Linked DNA regions of Homo sapiens: region 2 is linked to region 1. Evidence: promoter capture Hi-C in 16 types of primary human blood cells and fetal thymus (Javierre and others, 2016). All regions are on one chromosome and are shown on one strand. Each heading gives the region's core, a stretch centred on a gene start or on the middle of the fragment in contact. The rest is flanking DNA. Distances are from core to core; before and after follow the strand shown. Region 1 holds the start of BDP1 (BDP1 general transcription factor IIIB subunit). Region 2 has its middle 48 kb from the start of CARTPT.

Evidence for each region. Contacts are between HindIII fragments. The CHiCAGO score rates a contact against its expected background, and 5 or more counts as called.
Region 2: a contact is called between a fragment that was not itself captured here and the fragment with the promoter of BDP1 in region 1, in 1 of 17 cell types (endothelial precursors). The highest score is 12.0, in endothelial precursors.

The regions. Positions count from the first base shown.
Region 1 is chr5:71,452,890-71,459,468 of GRCh38, forward strand. BDP1 (BDP1 general transcription factor IIIB subunit) reads left to right here and starts at 2,762. Exons shown (of 39, transcript NM_018429.3): 1 at 2,762-3,200; 2 at 5,690-5,966. The coding sequence starts at 2,989. RefSeq lists enhancers at 1,697-2,623, 2,624-3,549. The HindIII fragment of the contact is 8,261 bases long and covers 1-5,386 here.
Region 2 is chr5:71,763,996-71,770,865 of GRCh38, forward strand. No RefSeq gene overlaps it. Among named protein-coding and RNA genes, the nearest start is that of CARTPT, 48 kb to the left of the region's middle. The HindIII fragment of the contact is 1,994 bases long and covers 3,470-5,463 here.

The sequences.
Region 1 (6,579 bases), core at 1,512-4,011:
GAGAAAAGTAGAGATTTAAAAAATTCGTATGATGCCACTAAGAATTTACTCCACAAACTTGTGTAACAAATGTCTTATGACTTTATATTTAATAATAAAATTTAATCTGATTCTGTTCCCATCCCTTTACTGGTGGGAAATTAAATCTTAGTCACTATTTACTTTCTGACCTGTAAAAACTTGGGACAATGCCCTAGTCTCTTAAGTGGAACAGAAGACCATCTGGGGAAAGGCCCTGTGTCTTCAGTTGGTATCAGAATATGCTGTTCAAAGCTGTGTAGACCTGGCAGTGGCTCCAAGATTCCTGAGACATCTTTAGCAGGGTATTCTCTCGAATTCTTGAGCTTCTTTAAATAAAGAAGATAAAACTGAGATACTGTTCCTTTTCCAGAGTATTGCAGGGAGCCCACGGAATCCACAGACCTCCTCTTTTCTCTTCCTTCCTTCCTTCCTTTCTTTCTCTCTCTCTTTTTTTTTTTTTTTTTGAGACAGGGTCTCACTTTGTCACCCAGGCTGTAGTGCTGTGGTGTGATCTTGGCTCACTGCAACTTCCGCCTCCTGGGCTCAAGCAATCCTCCAACCTCAGCCTCCTGAGTAGCTGGGATTACAGGCAGAAGCCACCATGCTCAGCTAATTTTTGTAATTTTGGTAGAGATGAGGTTTCACCATGTTGGCTAGGCTGGTCTTAAACTCCTAGGCTCAAGTGATTCGCCTGCCTCAACCTCCCAAAGTGCTGGGATTACAGGCACGAGCTGTGCCTGGCCTCCAGACCTTCATTTTCTTCATAGTCTTAGAGATATATGTTTTCTCTTCTCTGCTTTCAGTCTTGCCTTCCTACTCTCAAAAGCACTTGCCTCTTTTTTGTTCTCCCTTTAGGTGATCAATTTCTTCAGTCAGTTCAGAATTTTATTCCTTTGACCTTTTGTTATTAATGTATCACCATATTCTTGTAGGATTTTCTTTTCCTTCTAAGAAGAAAGTCAGGCCTTTGTGTTCCCATGAGTCAGGGGATTTGTATCACTGGTTCAAACATTGGCCCAATACCTCCAAGGCCAACCTCAGCTCTGGCTATTTTTCCTCTCATCATAGAGGACTTCCCTAGCCACTCTACTGCCAGCCTCCCTCCCATTACTTTCTATCACATCATCCTGTACATTTCTCTCTTTTTTTTCTTCTTATTATTAAATTTTTGTTTTAAGGACAAGGTTTCACTTTGTCACCCATGCTGGAGGGCAGTGGCACTATCATAGCTCACTGCAGCCTGGACCTCCTGCCTCAGCCTTCCAGGTAGCTGGAGCTAGAGGTGGGAGCCATCACAGCCACCGCATGTAGGTAATTTGTTTTAGGGGTCTCAATATTTTGAGCAGGTTGGTCTGGAAGTCTTGGGCTCAAGAGATCCTCCCACTTCAGTCTCCACAGTAGCTGGGATTATAGGCGTGCCTCGCCATACCCGGCATTCAACCCTTAAATTTATTTCATGACATTTGATATACTTTATTTTATTGCAATTAATTAATTAATTCATTTATTTTAAGACAGAGTCTCACTCATTCTGTTGCCTAGGCTAGAGTGCAGTGGTGCCATCTTGGCTCCCGGCAGCCTCCACCTCCAGGGTTCAAGCCATTCTCCTGTCTCAGCCTCCCATAGCTGGGATTACAGGCTTGCACCACCAGGCCTGGCTCATTTTTGTATTTTTAGTAGAGATGGAGTTTAACCATGTTGGCCAGGCTGGTCTCGAACTCCTGACCTCAAGCAATCTGCCTTGCCTTAGCCTCCTAAAATGCTGGGATTACAGGCATGAGGCACCCACGCCGGGCCTGATACATTTTAAAAATATCTTGTTCATTTCTTTTTTGTATTTTCTCCTCCCAAATCCAGAACGTCTTGTTTACTGCTACCTCCTGAAGCAGATTAAGAACACTCACAATAATTTACAAGGTTTCAACTATAATAATTTTTAAACAGGCTGGAGTGTAGTGGTACGATCTCGGGTGATACATTCATATTAAAAAGTACACAAGGAGGTTGGGCGTGGTGGCTCACGTCTGTAATCCCAGCACTTTGGGAGGCCAAATGGGTGGCTCGCTTGAGCCTAGGAGTTCAAGATCAGCCTAAGCAACATGATGAACCCCGTCTCTACTAAATATACGAGAAAAAAAAAATTAGCCGGGTGTCGTGGCGCGTGCCTGTGGTCCCAGCAACTTGGGAGGCTGTGACGGGAGGATCGCCTGAGCCCGAGAGGTGGAGGCTGCAGTGAGCCAAGATCGCGCAACTGCACACTCCAGCCTAGGCGACAGAGCAAGACCCTGTCTCAAAGGACAAAAACAAAAAAGTACACAAAGGCGTACGGTAAATGGTCTTCCTACCACGACGTGTTTTCCAGAAACACATTCCTCTCCTGGGAGGTAACTATTATCAGTTTCTTCACACCAGCATTTTTAATCTATGTCTACTCAATTTAGAATTTCTAAACCCTTCAGGATCTTCAAAAGACAAAATCGGCCAGCGATTTTAATAGTTCCAGTAAAGGTTTGAGCAGAGAAGTGGACTTTCTTCTGTTCCTCTTTTCAACTACTCCTAAGGACTCCTGGAGAAGAAAGAGCAAATATCTCTGCATCTCAATTTCTGGTCCGCAGGTAACCCAGTCTCAGTAGCTTGGTAGTTACCATGGCTCCCAGTGCTGTGCGTCTGACGTCATTCTGCGGCGCTGGCTGATGGCGCAATCAGTTGCGGCGTCCTGTGAGCGCGGGGATGCTGGGAGGAGGGTGAAATTTAGCCATCGGTGTGTGGCAGGGTCATGAAAAAGCGGCGGCGGCGGGAGAGAGGAGGAGGCGGCGGCGGGGCAGTGAAACTACGGTAGCTGCCCCCTGAGCTGGTGGTGTGGCTTTGTGGGGAGGGCGTAGTTCCTAATCCCCTTTCCGGGCAGCCGCCGGGGCTCGGGGCTGTGAGCGGCCGTGAGGCTGCCTCCCCGGGCCCCCTGCCTCCGCCATGTTCCGCAGGGCACGCCTTAGCGTGAAGCCGAATGTCAGGCCTGGTGTAGGCGCCAGGGGCTCCACAGCTTCCAATCCCCAGCGTGGACGGGAGTCTCCCAGGCCGCCGGATCCTGCCACGGACTCTGCTTCCAAGCCCGCGGAGCCCACAGATGTGCCCACAGTCGATTTCGGTGGAGCGGAGCCCCAAGAAAAGGCTCCTAGGAGCAGGTAAGAGGTTGCAGAGGGAAGAATTTTCATTTGTCCCGCCTCTCCGGGCATGTCACCTGGAAGCTGAGCAAATGAATTTTATCACAGGAGTCCGCTCTCGTTTGCAGTAAGCCTTTCAGTTGAGGCTTGATGAAACCACTCCAAACTGCAGTTTAGTTGTCTGACCTGCAGGGTGTGGCTTGTGTGGATTTTGTCACGGTCTATAGATTCTCCGAGAGGAGACCATGTCTTCAAGTGGTGGTAGGGAGAATCGGGGTATGGCAGTCCTGAAGTGAAGAATATCCACACTATTCATTTGAGAATTTAGGTCACTATAGTTTTCATCCTTCTGGAGTGCTTTGCAGGGAAGTGTTTTTGTCTTTCAATTTATAAAATATTTATTTTTTAAAGGAGAAGATAAGTATTGCTTTGGCTTTACCGATTTATGTCAGTGAGTAAGAGTTCTGGTCACTTAATTGAAGTGTGCCTCTTTAACTATGGTGACCGTGTTTCCTGAATAGAGAAGCATGGCTTTAGCGTCATGTATCATATTTGGATTCAGGACTCTTTTAGTCTACAGGTAAACTTTTCTCAGGCAGAATTTGCTCATCTGCAAAATGGGAATAATATTGCCTACTTGGAGCGTTTTGGTGCAGATTGGAGATAATTCATATTAACTACCTTGCAGGGGATATAGCAGAATAGTTGCCCGCAAAAAGTTACTAGTTTTTTAGAAAGGTGATGGAGTAAATTTAAGACATGTTAGGCTAAGATGGTCTCTGTTTCTATATATATGAGGAAATCAGTAAACAGCCTTGTTAAGTGAAGTGAGATAGTACAAATTCTGTTTATGCTGTGATAGGAAGGTGAAACATTTATTTATTTTTGGAACATCTTCCTCTATTGGCCTGAACTGGTGCTGAGTGTATGGTGTTACGTTGATAGTTCAGTGATGGTTAGTAATTTCCAAGTTTATTACATGAATCTGTTTCAAAATTTCTACACAGAAAGGAGATACCGATACTAGTCGCTGTTACATTAATAAAGTTCTCAGAGATTTCGTTAATTATGTGTGAGTGCGTGATGGTTGATAATTTAATAAATTGCCCAAAGATTGTAGTTTTGAGATATTTATGGTCAAGGATATTTAATTTTTTTTTTTGAGTTGACATTTACGTTTGGGGAATATAATTTGTTTTTTAGTCACTTTTTTTGCCATTACTGACTCTGGGAAAGTGGTTTTTTTTTTTTTTTTTAATTAGTTTTTTTTTTAGATGGAGTCTTGCTCTGTCGCCCAGGCTGAAGTGCAGTGGTACGGCTCACTGCAACCTCCACCTCCCGGGTTCTTGCAATTCTCCTGTCTCAGGCTCCCAAGTATCTGGGACTACAGGCGTGCCCCACCACGCCCAACTAATTTTTGTATTTTCAGTAGAGACAGGGTTTCACCATGTTGGCCAGGCTGGACTCGAACTCCTGACCTCAAGTGATCCACCTGCCTCAGCCCAAAGTGCTGGGGTTACAGGTGTGAGCCACCGTGCCCAGCCTCTTTTTATTTTTTTGTGGGTCTTTGCTAGTTGTAAAACTCTATAGGATATATATTCTGTCATTATGCATTCAACATAATTGGGTGAAATGCAGATAATGCATGTATCCATAACAGCTAAGATACGAATTTAAATTGAAGTCTTCCTGGAAAGGTTATTCTATAAGTTAAGGCATTTTCTAATTTTTTATAAGTAATTATAAAATAGGAAAAAAGTAGACTGTTTTTAATTATTGACTTATACCACCTCTTTTCTTGACTTAAGTTGCATTTATAGACCATTCCTGAAATACTTATATCTGAGGTATACCATACCTAATATGCAATTTGGGGTGACTGAGTACTTTTTTTGACTGAAGTTTATTCTGATGGCTGTATAAGTAGAGTTGTACCTGACAAAAGATAAATGATTTCTGCCTCAAAGGGAATTGGGTTTGGCTACTGTAACTAAATGTTTTTCTTCAAATACTGCAATACAGATATTTCAGAGGTTTGGAGTTTTGCATATTTGATTTGACTGACCTCGGGTTGATAAGTAAAGTAAAATGCCGGTAGTTTAGACCAGTTTAAAATGTCAGAGTGAATTAAAATTTTTTTAAATTTTATATAGAAATTAATTATAAATTATTACTTTGTTACTTAGTAATTCAAATTAGGTTGACTAAGCTTTGTTCTGTAAGTTGGTTATTTGTTTTGAGGGGGGTAAGCCTATAATTATGTGCTGTAATGTGCCTAGGGACTTTATGTTTGAAAAAGATTAAGAGTCTATTAGAATTTACGTATATTTAAAAGATTTACTAAACAAATTTTTTTGTAACCTGTCATAATTATCATAAATCTCAAGTTACTAATTTTTTTTTTTTAATTACGAGATTGCAGTTTTGGATTTTCACCAGACTAGGTTTTAAAACTAGCATGTGTAACAGAAGATTCATGTGCCCTCTTTTTTCTTTTTTAATTTCAACAGTACTGAAAAGACTGGTGGTGACAATGATGTTGAAGAATCCAGTAGATCTTCCTCTACTGTTTCACAGAGAAGAAAGCGAATATCAAGTACTTCTAGCCTGGTTAAGTCTAGTGTCAGTGTTCCTTCAGAATCTCATCCCTTATCTACAATTAATCAAGAGGCTCCACAGCCAACTGCCACTTCAACAAAAGAGAAACAGCCATGCTCAGACAGATACCGAATATACAAAGCCCAGAAACTGAGGGAAATGTTAAAAGAAGAATTGAGAAAAGAGAAGGTAAGGGAGGAGAATCAGGATTTTGATGTTGCCTTCTATTTATGTTAGTAAGGAATCATTGGGAAGAAAAGCATTTGTAGCATTTTGATGGGGGAACAAAACCACATAACATCCCTTAGTCAATAGAACATCCCTTCTTGTTAATGGATTGATTGATACACCGTGGACTTAAATTACATTTTTCACTGATAGTAATTTTTACATTATTTATTTATGTTTTCACTGTTTTTGGTGAAGACCACAAATAAGTTTCATACGCATACACATAGATGCACATACACAAACATATTTATAAAATAAACCTTCAGTCTGATTTTTCACATAAAGATGTCCAAGTGATAAGTGATATATTTATTTGAATTAAGACAAGTATAGGCCGGGCGTGGTGGCTCATGCCTGTAATCCCAGCACTTTGGGAGGACTAGGGGGGCAGATCACTTGAGGTCAGGAGTTCAAGACCAGCCTGGCCAACATGGCAAAACCCTGTCTCTACTAAAAATACAAAAATTAGCTGGGCCTGGTGACGTGCATCTGTAATCCCAACTACTGGGGAGGCTGAGGCATGAGAATTGCTTGAACCTGGGAGGTGGAAGTTGCAGTGAGCCGAGATTGT
Region 2 (6,870 bases), core at 3,217-5,716, 310 kb after region 1:
TGATAATTTTTTAATAGACACAAACAAAACCATGTCAATATTTCCAGTCACCAACAGAAAATGGAAGCAGTTTTGAGCAGGCATTTTAGCTTTCACTATTCTGAAATATGTTAGCTATAGACTCTGTTTGCTGAGTGTAGTGATGTTTGTAAAATTTTTAATATATAATCTTTAATACAATCATGTCTGAAAGTACAAAAGCAGAGTATTACATTTGCTAGTGAGAAAAGGCTGATGATTATGATGAAAATGAAAATCAAGATAATTTTACACATTCAAAACAATGATAAAATGACAAATTCCACATGTAAATATGAAATAAATTGTTCAATAAGAGACTGTTCCTCATGAACAAAGTCAATCATGCAAAATGTATAAAGTGCTGTGCTCATGCAATTGACAATAACGAACAGGAAATGAATAAGAGTCACAGATGAATTAGAAAATTTTAAGAGCTGTCATGTTAGAATATTGTCAATAACAAGACTGATGTGCTTCTCTGGAGTAGGCTCTTTAAAAAATTCCTTATAATAAGATATGTTGGTAATTAGGCCCTCAAAGGAAAAAAAAATCTCTGATTTGTAACATTTGCCAATTTCTATGGTGTAAATACTCCCAGCATGGCTGATTTCAAACAATGAGCCTGACCTCACTAAACTTGGAGCTGGGGAAAGATGTGTAATAGGTTCCAAAGCCAGCTTGAGCTGGCTGCCACATGACACTGGACTAAAGGATTTTCTAATATACTTCTTGTTCTCTGCACTGGACAATGGCAAATCACACCTAGATGCTATTCTACTGTTTTTTGGCTTTTATGGTGAGATAATTTTTTTCTAGGCATTGGCATACTTATGACTTCTGCTTATATGTTTTATGGGGTGGATACAACCAAGTGATTCCCTCAGAATGGGAGGGGCTCTGTCCTCTTCTCTTACTTCCCTGGGAAGAAATTATTGGCCATAGTGGCATTTGGGGCATCTAAGTGTAACTTTTACCTCATTTGAGGTGGATTTACTGGGAAATTCTTTTCCTCTTTATTTTTAAAATATATTCATTAAATCAGTAAGAAAGCATAATTTCTGGACTGAGATTTCTCATTGGAATTTGGCAAACATAAAATGACCTCATCTCTTGTTGAGTTTAGTATAATTTATTTTCGGAAAGATGGGTACTCAAGAGCAATAAATAAAAATCACAATGTTCTAATTCCCCATGTTTCCCAAGAAAAAGAAAAAAAGTCATTAAGATCCCCTAACAATGGCCGTGGGATCAGCATCAACACCAGATGCCTATTGACCTATTGTTAATTTCAGATAGGGCTAGGAGTTGGTTTGAGAGATTACAGATTAAACATGGCAGAGGGGCTGCTGCTGCAAATATTGTTGCAAACTCTGCATGCCTTGGATGGTTCCAAAGGCCCAAGCCTCACTGGAATCTGCTTAACATTAAATTAAGTCCCGAGGTGGGGAGAAGGAAGACCACGTGTCTTAGGCTGGCTTTCCCAGGTGCGGATACTGAAGTTCCTATGAGAAACCGGTGAGGAGCAGGGGAAGCAGGACAGGGAAGCGGAAGTGTGTGATTTCAGGTAAAGCCCTGCGGGAGGTAGCTTTGGCTTGATGTATCCGAGGAACCCTGGTGGGTAAGTTACCCTGAGAGTTTGATCAGACTCAGGCCAGGGAGCTGGGTTTCATATTCCAATACAAGTTGATCATTGTCTAAGGGCCAAACAAGGAGATGTAAATTCCCAAGTGTTCCTTGTTTTCTGCCTGTTGTGGCAAAGTGGCCTTGTAGCCTGATGGCAGTCCTCTAAAAGAGCCACAGGTATGGGCTGTTAGAAGTAAAGACACACGGAAGCTGGAGGAGTGCACACACACCACACACACAGATCCCAGGAGTTCTGGTTGGAACACGAAGGTGGTTTACACCGTGGTTGCTAAAAATTCTGTAGAATACTGTTGGAGATCATTGAGGCGGTGAGAAGGAGGTGGTGTGGATGACACCTGCCTGAGGAGATTTTCAATGTGGATGCAACAGTTTAATTTTAGAAGATGCCTGATAGAGTGTAGGTAAAGCAAAGAGAACAGCACAGCCAGTTTTAAAGCTTCGGGAGCCCTGCTCACACATGAGTGTGATGGCAATCCATCCAGGGACTGCAAGCTTGGACCCTTCTTGATTATGTTTTACTTACTGACACACATACTTACGAAGAGCTTCTGGAACTAAGTAGCTGCTTCTTTGTGAGTGGGAGGAGGCAGGATGAGCCTTAGAAGTTGCTCCTTAGGTCACCCCTAATATTTACAGGACCTGGGGCCGAGCGTTCAAGGTTAGATAAAATAAGTTCTAACACTTACTTTGACAAATACGCTTTCAAAATAGTCTGGAAGGCCAGGCTCAAATTTTGAATTTTCAAACTCCTTGGAGTTTCATGCTGAAATGTGGTGGCTAGGAGAAGGCTGGGCCCAAGCTCATTGGCCCCCACCTGAGCCCCCTTCCCTTTCCATCACTGTCTCCTTCATTGCAAGCATCTTTGAGTACATGTGTGTGGATGCCCCACCTGGAATGTCCAGAGCCTCTGCAAATAGCTGCCCTGGACATTCTTTGGGCTTGGGAGTGTAAATACCAGTGGTGTGGTTTACCCCTGGGAGGATGCACCTATGGACAAGGCCTGTACAGGTCCTGCAAGCAGGCTTGGGGTTGTTTGGGCAGAGAATTCAAGGCTCTTGAGCATCTAGGAAGTGGTCTAGAAGGGCTCTGGGTGGGCACATGCCCTTGGTCTTGCAGATTCCTCTTGCGGTAGAGACAGACATAATCCAAAAAAATGTCAGAGTGGGGCTTTCTAAAACACAAGGTCCAGGTACCGGGAGATACTGCCGAGCGGTGTGATTTTAAGTCACAGTGAAGCTTATCATGAAGAACTGGACCATGGAGGTAGGGAAAGATGCTACTTCACCAATAGGTCATTTCTCAAGATGACTATCTGGGAAATAAACTGTGAACAGGACACATTGGTCTATCCCTTAAAGACCTGAGTGGATTCTTTGATTCATACTGAAGTAGAGAGAGAATGGGGTCAATTGCAAATACCACCTGCCTGTTAGCTTTCAAGGAGTATGGATAGATTTTGCCTCATTTGAGAACGAGTAAACATCAGCAACACATGAGCCCAGTAAAAAAATACTGCAGAACAATGGATAAAGGACAGTACTCTGGAACCTCATAGAAAGATTCTATCTCTGAAGAGCCTATAGGAACAAGAAGAAAATTACAGGAGATTGTTTAGAATCTGCAATAATAGAATTCAATGAGGCATTGTGTTGTGAAACAGGAACATAACACCATGATGAGACAACAGGCTGAAAGAAGACAGCATGTTGAGATATGGAAGGCTTTCAAGTAAACCAAGAGCACAATAACATGATCAGTACCTAACTGTAAATCAGAATCAGTTATGTACTGAACAAATTTGAGAAGCTTTTCTAGGATGCAGAAAAAAATGCACAAGCAGAAGGAAAGAGAGAAAATGAAACCTCTAACATTTGATTACTTTGTGTTTCTAGGGAAGACAGCATAACACATGGAATAGAAGCAATCATAAAAGATGAAATAAAACCTAAGTTTGCAGGCTGCAGGGGTTCACTGCATTTCAGATGAAAACAGAAGAGATCCACATCTACATATATTCAAAGAAAAATTTTGAATTATACAGATTTTTAAAAAGTCCTATAAATCTATTTAGAAAAGATAATTTATCTGTCAATTGCAGGAATTATTGAGTAGTTTTTTCTCCTAAAAGCACTCTGATGCTATTTTGGGAAACTGACTCCTCTCTACTTGAGTCATTACAATGGAACCATAAGTCAAGATATTTTGTCCTTTCCTGCCAAGAAATGGGAATGCAACCTGAGACTGACAGGAGTGTCTCTCTGGAACTGAAACTTTAGCAGAGCAATAAAATGACAGAATATAGTTGTATCTGCTCATTCATCCTAGTTGCAATGCCATAATGTCTTTTATCACTTCTTACAAATTCTAGGATTGGCCCTTGTTTCTTTTTCAAACCTGTTGGGTTACCTTTTCTAGGTTCTAAGTTCCCCTATATTCTGCTTATAACTTCCACTTTTGCTCCAGTTGGCAAGATACCCTAAGAGAAAGGTAGATTTTTGAGGAGCGGGGAAACTGGCCAGAATGGGGAAAAGGGGGAAAATTCGCTTTCATATTGCGGGTTAGTATCCCAACAGTGTAAAACAACTGTTACGTTCCCTCTATGTGCGCCAGAAGGTGGTGCTCTGAAAAACTGAGTAGCTGATGGCAAAAAATAATTTAAACATTCTGGAACAACAGGGTAGGATGGCTGCTTCTGGTGGCATTGAATAACATAAAGTAAGAGAATAGCAAAATCAGATCTCTAAATTATCACATCAGGCTAATTTTCTGTGGCCTTTCTGTTTGGCTCTTCAAGACTCACAATTACTGATATAATCATGTTGCTGTGGGCATATTTCATATGACCTTCCTTCCTTATTTTATTAGTTTAGATAAGCTGTGAGTGCATTAGACCAGACGGTTTAGCTGTTGGCCATTTTAATGATAGTTTTTTTTTTTTTTTTTTTTTGAGACACTCTTGCTCTGTTGCCCAGGCTGGAGTGCAGTGGCATGATCTTGGCTCACTGCAACCTCTGCCTCCCAGGTTCAAGCAATTCTCATGCTTCAGCCTCCCAAGTAGCTGGAATTACAGGCGTATGCCACTGCGCCTGGTTAATTTTTGTATTTTTGGTAGAGACAGGGTTTCACCATGTTGGCCAGGGTAGTCTCAAACTCTTGACCTCAGATGATCCACCTGCCTTGGCCTCCCAAAGTGCTGGGATTACAGTGTGAGCCACTGCGCCCGGCCAGAGAGTTTATTTATTAATTTACTTTATTTATATTCTACACACACACACACACGGACACCCCTTTACACATACTCCTGGGAAAAATGCAGGGAGCAGAGCACACAATTATGGAGGTTTGAAAATACCTTCTTTTTTTCTTTTCTCTTTTTAGCTACACCTGCTGGAATGGGAGTATTTTTAAATACCTTCTAATGACACCAGCAAATAAACAAAAGTTGTGTTATCTTCACAATCACTATATGCTAGAAGGCTTAAAAAACTTCAGTATCTACAGAATTTGGAGGGAGACAAGTAAAGTTTAAAATAAGCAAAGTTGTCTTTTGTGTGTGATGGCAATAGAAAGTTATTCTTAGATGTGTATGGGCGCAGGAATCACACCATCCACGCTACCTTCTTGAAAAAACTGCTCCAGCCAACCAAGAGAAGCAAACTGGAGAGCTAAATAAGGGCAAGCATGGTCTGAAAGGACTTGTGGTTCTCACCTAAGCCTAATCCCAAACCTAACTGTAACCCTGCACTCAGGACCCCTGTGGAGTGTTTATTTTCAGGGGGATTTTGCAGGCAAAGGTGAAGCTTGGTCCAGCAGTGCTTCCTCAAGCTGCTTCCTCACCCTGCTGCTCATTTCCTGTACCAGGAAATGTGTCTCTCACCATACCTCCTTTGCTCCCTGGTGCAGCTAGAATTTAAAGCTTTGTTTGGTGAACATAGGCAATTTGTATTTTGTTTATGTATTTGCAAACAAAAGTAATCTGTACAGAGGGTAATGATTCAGTGCTGAGAAATAAATACATTTTCCCCTGATTCCACCAAGCAGGATGCTTAATGAAACATAATGAACTTTTTTATTGCCAAGCCGAGTAATGATTTTCTGAGTCTTTAAAACTTATATTGGAGGATTTTATCCTACAAAAATAAAAGAATTAGCTTATAAGGATATGTATAAAGATACACATTGAATGTGACAAAGCGAAGTAAAACAACTTGAATGCCATCAATAGGGAGTGATTGAATAAACTGTGGCATGTCCAGATTTCTAGAATATTACATAGCTACTAATAAGGAGTTCGATTTATATGCAATGACCGATAGGAAAGGCCACCAGCAAAGTACATTGCAGAGAAATGTATATAAATGATTGTATTTTTTGTAAAATCAGAAAAGCCTTTTATTGGTGTGAATATTTTCAGTTGTGTGCATTCATATGAATGTAGAAAAATGTGGACACTAAATTAACATTTCTTGTTTTCAGGAAGGGATAATAGCAGGAGTGAGAGTCACGGGAAAGGCAAATGTTGGGTTTTTCTTTGATACTCAGGATTTTTTTTTCTTGGAAAATAAGCGGCAATACAAGCATGTATTGTTTTTTCAGTTTGAAAGAAATCTGATAGAGTAGATAATAAAGATAATTTATCTTGAATGAAATGACTTCAGTATTTTTTTAAATTGAGAAAGATGAATACATGACCCAGGGACAGAAGTGATGTCAAATTCCTTTGCACATCATTTTCTACCTGTGATTTTCTATCTATGATTTTCTATCTATGATGTGTATCTGCTTAAAAATTACTGTATATTAATTGTTCTCTACTTGATCATTTATATACCATATAATCCAGCCTTTATATGTGTGCAGTTTGGTGATTTTTACTATACTTGGAATGGTGCAACCTGCAAACATCACCACTATCTAATTACAGAACAGTTTCATCACCCCAAAGAGAAATCCTGCACCCATTAGCAGTCATTCTTCATTCTCTGCCCTTCCACCCATCCAGACCTGGGCATCTACTTCTGTGTGTATGGATTTGCCTATTCTGAAACTTCATATAAATGATCCTACAATATGTTGCCTTTTGTGTCTAGCTTCTTTGACTTAGCATAATGTTTTCAAGGTTTATTCATGTGGTAGCATGTGTCACTATTTCATTCCCATTTTTTTTTTTTTTTTTTGAGACGGAGTCTCCCTCTGTCGCCCAGG